Linked DNA regions of Homo sapiens: region 2 is linked to region 1. Evidence: promoter capture Hi-C in human tissues and cell types (Jung and others, 2019). All regions are on one chromosome and are shown on one strand. Each heading gives the region's core, a stretch centred on a gene start or on the middle of the fragment in contact. The rest is flanking DNA. Distances are from core to core; before and after follow the strand shown.

The links. Contacts are between HindIII fragments. The study calls those that stand out against the background at their distance.
Region 2: a contact is called between a fragment that was not itself captured here and the fragment with the promoter of TNFRSF19 in region 1, in 1 of the 25 tissues and cell types used here (mesenchymal stem cells).

Annotation. Positions count from the first base shown.
Region 1 is chr13:23,568,715-23,573,621 of GRCh38, reverse strand. It overlaps TNFRSF19 (TNF receptor superfamily member 19), which reads right to left and starts at 3,210. Exons shown (of 10, transcript NM_148957.4): 1 at 2,774-3,210. RefSeq lists an enhancer at 4,775-4,907. The HindIII fragment of the contact is 2,276 bases long and covers 2,964-4,907 here.
Region 2 is chr13:23,528,486-23,533,024 of GRCh38, reverse strand. It overlaps LOC124903135 (a long non-coding RNA gene), which reads right to left. Exons shown (of 3, transcript XR_007063720.1): 3 at 508-1,886. Among named protein-coding and RNA genes, the nearest start is that of TNFRSF19, 40 kb to the left of the region's middle. The HindIII fragment of the contact is 7,595 bases long and covers 1-4,539 here.

The sequences.
Region 1 (4,907 bases), core at 1,961-4,460:
CCCTGGAGGAAAATTAACCTTTAATTATTAAACTGTTTTTGGATGCCACTGGCATCATCTAAGAAAATATCAATTCCTTCAAAACACACAAATATGTGTTGATATAATGCCAAACTCGTATGTACACACACACACAGAGGCAAACACACAAATACATATATAATTCCACATCACATTGATGCATTAAACTTTTTGTGAAAATTATTTTACGTGTTAAATTATGTTAAATTATGGGTAGCAGCTACTGTGTTTAGACAGCTTAGAAGTCCAGAAGTAGAAGGAACAGTTGGAAAATAATCAGACGAATCCAGCTGACTGACATATCTATCATGGAAACAAAAAAAAAATGCACTACAATAGGAAGTGGCTGTCTTTATTTTTCAAACTAATATTGTTCTTTGATGAGCTACAGAGTGCATTTGTTTAAGCAGTTGTTGGAAAGCAGACCCTGCATGGTAGACTGGAAAGAACATTGGACTAGAACTGGGAAAATCAGCCATGTGACCTTGTTAAGATAGGGACATTCGTTTTCTATAGCCTCAGTTTCCTCATCTGTAAAATGGCCATAAAAATTCCAATTCTGCTTATTTCATAAAGATGATGTGATCAACTCCCTCACTTCACACATGAGGAAACTCTCTTGAGGTCATATAGCTAATTGGTGACAGTATCAGGACTCAACATAAAAGTCTTTTGAAGACTTGGACTTTCTGTAGTAACAAAGCTGCCATTGAAGCAACAGATAGGAAAGTGCTTTGAAAAATGTCACATAAGGGTTTTGTTCAGTAGAAGTAATAGGACTATATCTGCCAAAGTCATTTTGTGGCAATTAATTAGGAAATGCCTTTTGAGACTGTACCTGTACCTTCAGATACAACCATCTTTATTTTAAAATCAAATACACTCTATTTCATTTCTCAACAATGACACTAGAAGTAAACAATTAACTGAATTAATTCAAACACTGAAGTGGATTTTCAAGGACTTGACTTGCCCAAGCTAGTTTTCTACAAAGCCTAAATTAATCAGATAATTGCTAATTCTCCCCTTTGTTTTGTGCTGAGGAGAGCCTGTATTTGTTAAAATGATCCTAGTAGCAGGATAAACAGTCATTTTAAAAATTTTAAAATCCAAATCTGAACTAAATGAGCAAGTTTCAGACACACTATTTCTTTAGGCACCATCTCCAGTCATTGTTTTAAAAGGCTAATTTTCTTTATCTGAATGTGAACATTAATACCACTTTTGTGATTAAAAGGAAGATTTTAAGCAAACAAATTAAAAAAAAATCAAACTAAACCGATATTGCAGGATATTGTGAACATGATTTGTTGTACTCTTAGAAAAAAAAAGCAAATGCCTCTCCTGGCATGACTAAAAACAGCAGTTAAATCTTTAAGATTAAGTTATTAATGACACACTTTAAAAATATAATCAGTTTAGCATGGCTTTAAATAACCTCCACTTAACAACTAGCAAAGTTTTAAAATTAAATAAACAATGCTAATTACCCTTCTAGTATCAAGAGGAAAGTGTAGAAAGTAATTTAATTAATTGGCTGTGAAAAATTAATTACTTATGAAATGAGACTCATTAGACCTTTCCTGTTTCATCAGAATTTCAGACTAAAGGATAACTGGTCTTATCACTTATGGTTTCTTTATGGTTCAGCTAGCATCAAATAGACTTGTGATAATAATTAAATATTTTGCCCAGATAAATTTAGGACTAGAACATTAAAAAAAAAAACATCGCGAACAAAGTAACAGTGTTACTTTTCCATTGTATTTAGTTTTTATATTTCACTGTAAAGATTTTACTGTGTGTGTGTGTGAGCGTGAGTGTGTGTGTATCATGAACTGACAAAAAAATAACAGTTAACTTTCAAATTCGGTACAGCAATATAATTTGGTTTTGTCATGTTGGGCATTAGCTAAAGTGAAAATGTGACTAAGATACTTTATGTAACATAATAACTGTTGATTACTCAGATAGTTTTCATAAACAGTTGGCAAATTTTGACTTAAAACAGCTGTCACTATAAATGTAAAGTAAATGTTAATTTAGGAATATTAACCTTGTGAATGTTTCTGTAAATAAGGCTTATGCTATTTCCAAAGGTTATAGAAAATCACTGGAGTATTTTTAGCCAAACTTAGTGCAACTTTATCCTCACTGTTTTTAAATTCTTCAGTTTTACACATAAAAGTCTTTAATCATACTTGATGGTTTTTCAGTGATTCCCTTGAGTGTACAAACTGCATAAGGAAGTGTATTTGATAGATTTACATCTTGGAAGTGAGAGAATAAATAAACTAAAGAAACAGTATTGCCAGAGATACATTTTACTCTTTTATATAAGAAAACAAAGAAAGCATTTTCAACAAGCAAAGTTGCACTGACTGTTTACTAAATAAGGTAACCTGTAAATACTTAGAGCAATTATAGCTCACAGATCTCAGGGGTTGAAGTACCAGTTGCATGCTAAAGTGAGCGCTGTTCTGTTTTGTCCTGTTTGTACAACTCATTTCCAAGTAAAATTTGTATGACAGACTGCAAACCCTCTTGTACAAACTACTAAAAATTACATCAAGTTCCATAGTTACTCTGATACACACATTCAGCATCATGTAGTATTCAGCTGTATAAATGCTTTCTAAAAAATTAATTAAAACCATTCTTTTCTCAGAACACATGCGAAAAATGCAGTGAAAGCTATAACAAAGCTTAAAACAGAGTACCTGCAACATGCTGAGCTCTTTGCAGTACTTACCCGTTCAGCAACTTAGTTTCTCCTGGCAGCACTTCTGTGCCAAATGCTTCTACCTTCCCAAAAATGTATGTCAGCACAAGCCCAGACGAAACTTCAAATCCAGGAAAATAAAATTAACCATGCAGATCAAAGGCAGACGAGCAGGGAGATGAAATGCCTGTAATCTGATCAGTGAATCAGTTGCTGAACATCAAAGGCAGGGCTGAGTTTATATATATGCATGGATATCAAAGAAAGTTCACTTTCAGCAGGTAGTTACCCTCCCACCTCCTAGTCCACAGACTCTTTTGTTAAACATGGATCACGTTGTTTTCCTCCTCTTTTTTGCAATGAGGCAATGCTGGTAGTTCTCCCATGCTTGGGCTGAGTGGCTGGATCTGTAGCTTTTTTGGTTCCCAAGCTGTGTTGTGGACTGTGTGTTGGAAGCTTTTCCTAGTGCCAGCGGGTTCTGCTTTATCCCTTTCATCTCGCTGAACTGCAGATCCCATGACATCATTCAGCGCCGTGGGACTGGTAGGAGAGCTATAATTCAGCCTGTGGGGGAGTATAGCTCAAGAGAAGCCAGAGTTTGGCTGATTTCTAATCATGTTAGACTATTGTGCCTCACACAGGACAGTTTCTGTTATCTGTCTGCCAGCTGGAAAGGACAGCAACTGCTGCTGGATGCTTCTTGGGTGATAAGATCCCTGATGGATGGACGTGCCAAATGACAGCATTTAATTGCCTCTTCGCTGATAAAAATCACAATTTCCTACAGAGACTGGGTGTCAAATATTCAGCATAGTTAAATAGCACTATGAGACCACTCTAAAAAACACCCAAGGACACTGCCAGATGGACCGATAACATTTTCACATTTTGATTCCAGTTTTCAAAGTGACAAGTCTTTAAGGATTTTAAGGAAACTGCCCTTTCTTTGAAACATACATTATTAGGATCTGATTACCAATCAAACCGGGTTGTGTTAAGTAGTTAAGCAGCAGATAACCAACAATTCATGAATAAACTGCCATCTTCCACTGGCTCACTTAAGACTTTGGGCGGAGACTTAATCTCAATCTTTGCCTTAGTTCGGGACTCTGGAAATTAGATTTTAAAGCAATATCTACTTCTTAGACATATTTCATTAATACTTGTTGAGCATTTTAAAATTCACAAAAGAAGAATTATGTAGAACAAAGCATTTGCCCTGTGATTATTCCAAAGCCATGTTATTTGCCTTTTAGGGCTGTTTCTTCCGAACTCATAGTTTGGACTTTCAACTCACTAAAAAATTACCACCTTAGCCTAATTCTTCGTATTTTAAAATTAAATATATTGCTCATTATTTAAAAATTTTAAGCTATTTTCCTTAACAATGTCAGATTCAATACAATATGATTATTTTATTTTGAGTATTTAGTAAAATAGAAGATAAGAAGAAGTTTCATCTTCCTTGAAATCCAGGATATGGTGCTTTTCTGATTTTCAGACAGTTCTTTCATGGAATGAAGACAATTTTTCTATTTTATAATGGAAACTCACTAACTTTTAGAAAGTAAGTTAAAAATATTTTTGCAAAACTTAGGGGATAGTAGAACTCAGTCTTTTTCAATGTAACTTCCCTCCTTAACTGGTTTTGTCTAATTTTTCCTGACGCGATATTTGAAAACGTTATTTATGAAGTGTTTATTTCCAGATTTCTATGATTCTTGAATAATTTTAATAGCAAAATATTTAGTTTGAACTGTTCATAAGTTCTGTATAACATTTAAATAGTCCTGTTGATTTTTCCATGTTTCTTGTATAATTTTTCTACTTATACATCATTTCTCAAAAATGCACAGGGCTCAAATAGTATTTGAACTGGCAGGTGTGATGCTTAAGGACTTCCTTAAAGCAGACCAGGAAAATTCCTGTGACATCTGGGCTTCACATACGTTTCCTGGGCATCTTGAACCCATGAATACAAAGAAAATATTTACAAAGACAAAATATTTACAAGAAGGCATGTGCCCATTTCTTTTCTGAGGTAGTCCAAACCTACCACCAGCATGGAATCCATATGCCAACAGCCTGCACTCAGGATTAAAGTTTCCCGATACACTGATATATTAAATCAGAGCAACTAGACACTCTGTAAGGCTCATTGGCT
Region 2 (4,539 bases), core at 73-2,572, 39 kb after region 1:
TAGAAATAGGGCAGTTTCATGGTGAATTCAAACATTCAAATGCTGTCTTTCTTGTGCAGCTTAATATGTTGGCTTGGCTCAGCACAGTCACAGGTGGACAGCCCAGTTCCACGCAGCACGTGTAGACCAGGCAATATACAACCACCAAGAGGGATCTTGCTTCCTATTGTGTCCGGAATTGGTGGGTTCTTGGTCTCACTGACTTCAAGAATGAAGCCGCGGACCCTCGTGGTGAGTATTACAGTTCTTAAAGGTGGTGGGTCCAGAGTTTGTTCCTTCTGATGTTCGGACTTGTTCGGAGTTTCTTCCTTCTGGTGGGTTCGTGGTCTCGCTGGCTTCAGGAGTGAAGCTGCAGACCTTCGTGGTGAGTGTTACAGCTCTTGAGGTGGCGCGTCTGGAGTTGTTCATTCCTCCCGGTGGGTTCATGGTCTCGCTGGCCTCAGGAGTGAAGCTGCAGACCTTTGCAGTGAGTGTTACAGCTCATAAAGGCAATGTGGAACCAAAGAGTGAGCAGCATCAAGATTTATTGCAAAGAGCAAAAGAACAAAGCTTCCACAGCGTGGAAGGGGACCCCAATGGGTTGCCACTGCTGGCTCCAGCAGCCTGCTTTCATTCCCTTATCTGACCCCACCCACTTCCTGCTGATTGGCCCATTTTACAGAGAGCTGATTGGTCTGCTTTGGCAGCATGCTGATTGGTGAATTTACTATCCCTGAGCTAGACACAGAGTGCTGATTGGTGTATTTACAATCCTCTAGCTAGACGTAAAAGTTCTCCAAGTCCCCACTAGATTAGCAAGGCACAGAGCACTGATTGGTGTATTTACAAACCTTAAGCTAGACACAGAGTGCTGATTGGTGCGTCTACAAACCTTGAGCTAGACACAGGGTGCTGATTGGTGCGTTTACAAACCTTGAGCTAGATACAGAGTGCTGATTGGTGTATTTACAATCCTCTAGCTAGACATAAAAGTTCTCCAAGTCCCTACTAGATTAGCTAGACACAGAGCACTGATTGGTGCATTTACAAACCTTGAGCTAGCCACAGTGTGCTGACTGGTGCATTTACAAACCTTGAGCTAGCCACAAAGTGCTGATTGGCACATTTACAAACCTTTAGTTAGACATAAAAGTTCTCCAAGTCCCCACCTGACTCAGGAGCCCAGCTGGCTTCGCCTAGTGGATCCCGCTCCAGGGCCACGTGAGGAGTTGCCCGACCATCCCATGCTGCGTGCCCACACTCCTTTGCCATTGTGTAGTCGATGGGACCAGGCTCCGTGGAGCAGGGGGGGTTAGGGCATGGCGGGCTGCAGGTCCCAAGCCCTGCCCCGCAGGGAGGCGGCTGAGGCCCGGCAAGAATTTGAGCATGGCACAGGTGGGCCAACAGTGCTGGGGGACCCGGTGCACCCTCCACAGCTGAGCCCACGCCCACCCGGAACTCGTGCTGGCCCCAGTTCCTGCCCATGCCTCTCCCTCCACACCTCCCCACAAACAGAGGGAGCCGGCTCTGGCCTCAGCCAGCCCAAAGAGGGGCCCCCACAGTGCAGTGGTGGGCTGAAGGGCTCCTTGAGCATGGCCAGAGTGGACGCCGAGGCTGAGGAGGCACTGAGAGTGAGCGAGGGCTGCTAGCACATTGTCACCTCTCAATCCCCCCTCTAAACTGGACACTCCAACTGCTGTTGGGAATTTGGCCGATGACTGCTCTAGCTACTTCCTGCTGGATAGGGGTGATGAAGGGGCCCTGCAGTTGTAGTGTCCTCCAGAGGGGAACTCTTTAGGCCAGTGGAAGGGCCAGCAGGTCAGTCCAGGTGTCCTCGGTAGAAGTTGTTAGTTGAACTCATTTGGGGTTCCATTTGTAAGACCATCTGTAGCTTGATGGCCTCGATTCTAGAGGAAACAAATTTGACAAGAAGGTTAAAAATACAGGGCCCAAAGGCAAGTAACAGCAAGATGGCTGCCACAGGACCTAGAAAGGGGAGGGAGAAGCCATGTGGCCCAACTCCAGAGGTTGGTATAAGAGTTTGAAAGACGTTGCCTGATTTCAGAAGCCTTTTCCTGTAAACACCGGGTGGCATCTCACACTATCCATGACTGGTTAGTGTAAAAACAACAGTCTTCCCCTAAGAAGGTGCAGAGTCCTCCTTTCTCAGCAGTGAGGAGGTCTAGGCCTCGGTGGTTTTGGAGAGTCACTGCTGTCAAAGAGTCTATTTGGGATTGTAGAGTAAGGATAGATTTCGTTATTTCTTGCAAACTGTCTGAAAAATCCTTTGAGAGTGTCTGGTAGTAGGATAATGAAGTAGATAAACTGGCTATTCCGGTTCCTGTAGCAGTAACTATTCCTAACCCTGTAAGTAGTGGTATCAGTTGTATGGCTCTGCACTGACAGACTTGAGTTTTGAGGGGTACTGATAGGCTCTGATTTCCTGGGGCAATGTTAATGTTGGGACTTAGAAAGACTAAGGTGCAGGTGCCTATCCAGTTAGTGGGGAGGCAGATGTAGGTCCACATTCCACATAGGAAGAATATACCTTGGCTGGGTAGACAGAACTTTACCCTGGCTTTTAAAGGAATAGGATACACTGTTTTTTCTTTACTACTTCTATCTCTGTCTTTGACTTCTTCGTCTCTCTCTTTCTGACTGCCTCTGTCTGTCTCTTCCTCTCTCTGTCTCCTTCTCTTTGACTTCCTGTCTTTCTCTTTCTCTCTTTGTCTCTCTATCTCTTCCTCTCTGACTTCTTGTCTCTTTCTGTCTTTCATTTCTTCTGCCTCTGCCATATGCTTATGCTGCTGTTCTCCCTTCTCCTTCCCCTTTTGATGGCTTTGGCAGTGTAAGACTGCCACCTTCTTCGGTTTTTGCACTATGTACAGTAACTCCATGATTTCCTTGTGGCATTTAATGGGGGTTCCCCGAGGTTGGGAACTCCCTTTCTTTCCATATTGCAGCATGGGCATGTAGGATTACATAAGCATACTTGCTATCTGTATACACATTTATTCTTTTTCCCTTTCCCAGTACTAAGGCTCGGGTAAGTGCCACTAGTTCTGCTAACTGGGCACTTGTCCCTGGGGGAAGAGGCTTACTTTCAAGTACAGTTACATCACTAACTATGGTGTAACCTGCCCTTCGTATCCCATTCTTCACAAATGAACTTCCATTGGTATATAGGTTAAGGTCAGGATTAGCTAAGGGGACTTCTAAGAGACCATCTCGGGTGGCATAAGTCTGGACTATAATTTGTTGGCAGCCATGCTCAATTGGTTCCCCATCCTCTGGGAGAAAAGTGGCAGGGTTGAGGGCCACGCACATGCATATTTGAAGCACCAGTCTCTCAAGAAGTAGTGCCTGGTATCTAAGTAGGTGGTTGTCTGATAGCCATAAACTTCCTTTGGCACCTAGTGTGCCATTTACATCATGAGTAGTCCAGACAGTGAGATCTTTTCCTTGTAGTATCTTGATAGCCTCTGACACTAAGATGGCCACCACCACAGTGAGGCCAGCCTTTTGATACTACATCAATTTCCTTACTTATGTATACCTGCCACTGGTTGTGTGGTTGTCCCACGAGTCTGAGTAAGGACTCCAAGAGCTATCCCTGCTCTCTCTGTGACGTATAAAGAGAAGTTTTGTCCTGTCAGAAGGCTTAAAACTGGAGCTTGTGCGAGGGCCTGCTTTAAGGTTTTGAAGGCTGTTTCTGCCTCTGGTTCCCATTCTACTAGATGAATATTTGCCCTCTGGGTTTCCTTGATTAGAGTATAGAGGGGCCTGGCTATCTCGCTGTATCTGGGGATCCATGGTCAGCAAAAGCCAGTAATTCCAAGGAACCCCCGCAACTGTTTTAATGTCTTAGGGCAAGGATAAGCCAGTATAGGCTGTATTCATTCCTTGCTGAGGGCCCTGGTCCCTCTGGCTAAGATTAGGTCTAGATATTTGACCTGCTGTAGGCAAAGCTGGGTCTTCGACCTAGACCCCTCTATCCTTGATTAGCTAGAAAGTTCAAGAGATCTAAAGTAGCCTGCTGGCATGAGGCTTCTGAAATGGTAGCCAAAAGTAAATCATCCACATACTGAAGGACCAGAGTGCCTGGACTTTAGAAGTGGCCTAGATCTTGGGCCGTGCCTCACCAAACAGATGAGGGCTATCCCTAAACCCTTGGGGCAAGATCATCCAAGTAAGTTGTGATGTGTGGTCTGTGGGATCCTCAAAGGCAAAGAGAAACTGGGAGTCAGAGTGCAGGGGAAGACAGAAGGCAGCATCCTTAAGGTCCAGAACTGTGAACCATCCTGCTTCTTCTGGTATTTGAGAGAGCAGGGTATAGGGGTTGGGTACAACTGGATATAGAGGAATTACTGCCTCATTGATGAGTCTAAGATCTTGCACTAATCTCCACTGACCATTCGGCTTTTGTACTCCTAGAATTGGGGTGTTGCAAAGACTGCTGCATTTCCTTACTAAGCTTGAGCTTTTAAATGTTTAACAATATCATGTAAACCTTTATGAGCTTCAGGCCTTAAGGGATATTGCCTTTGATAAGGAAAAGTG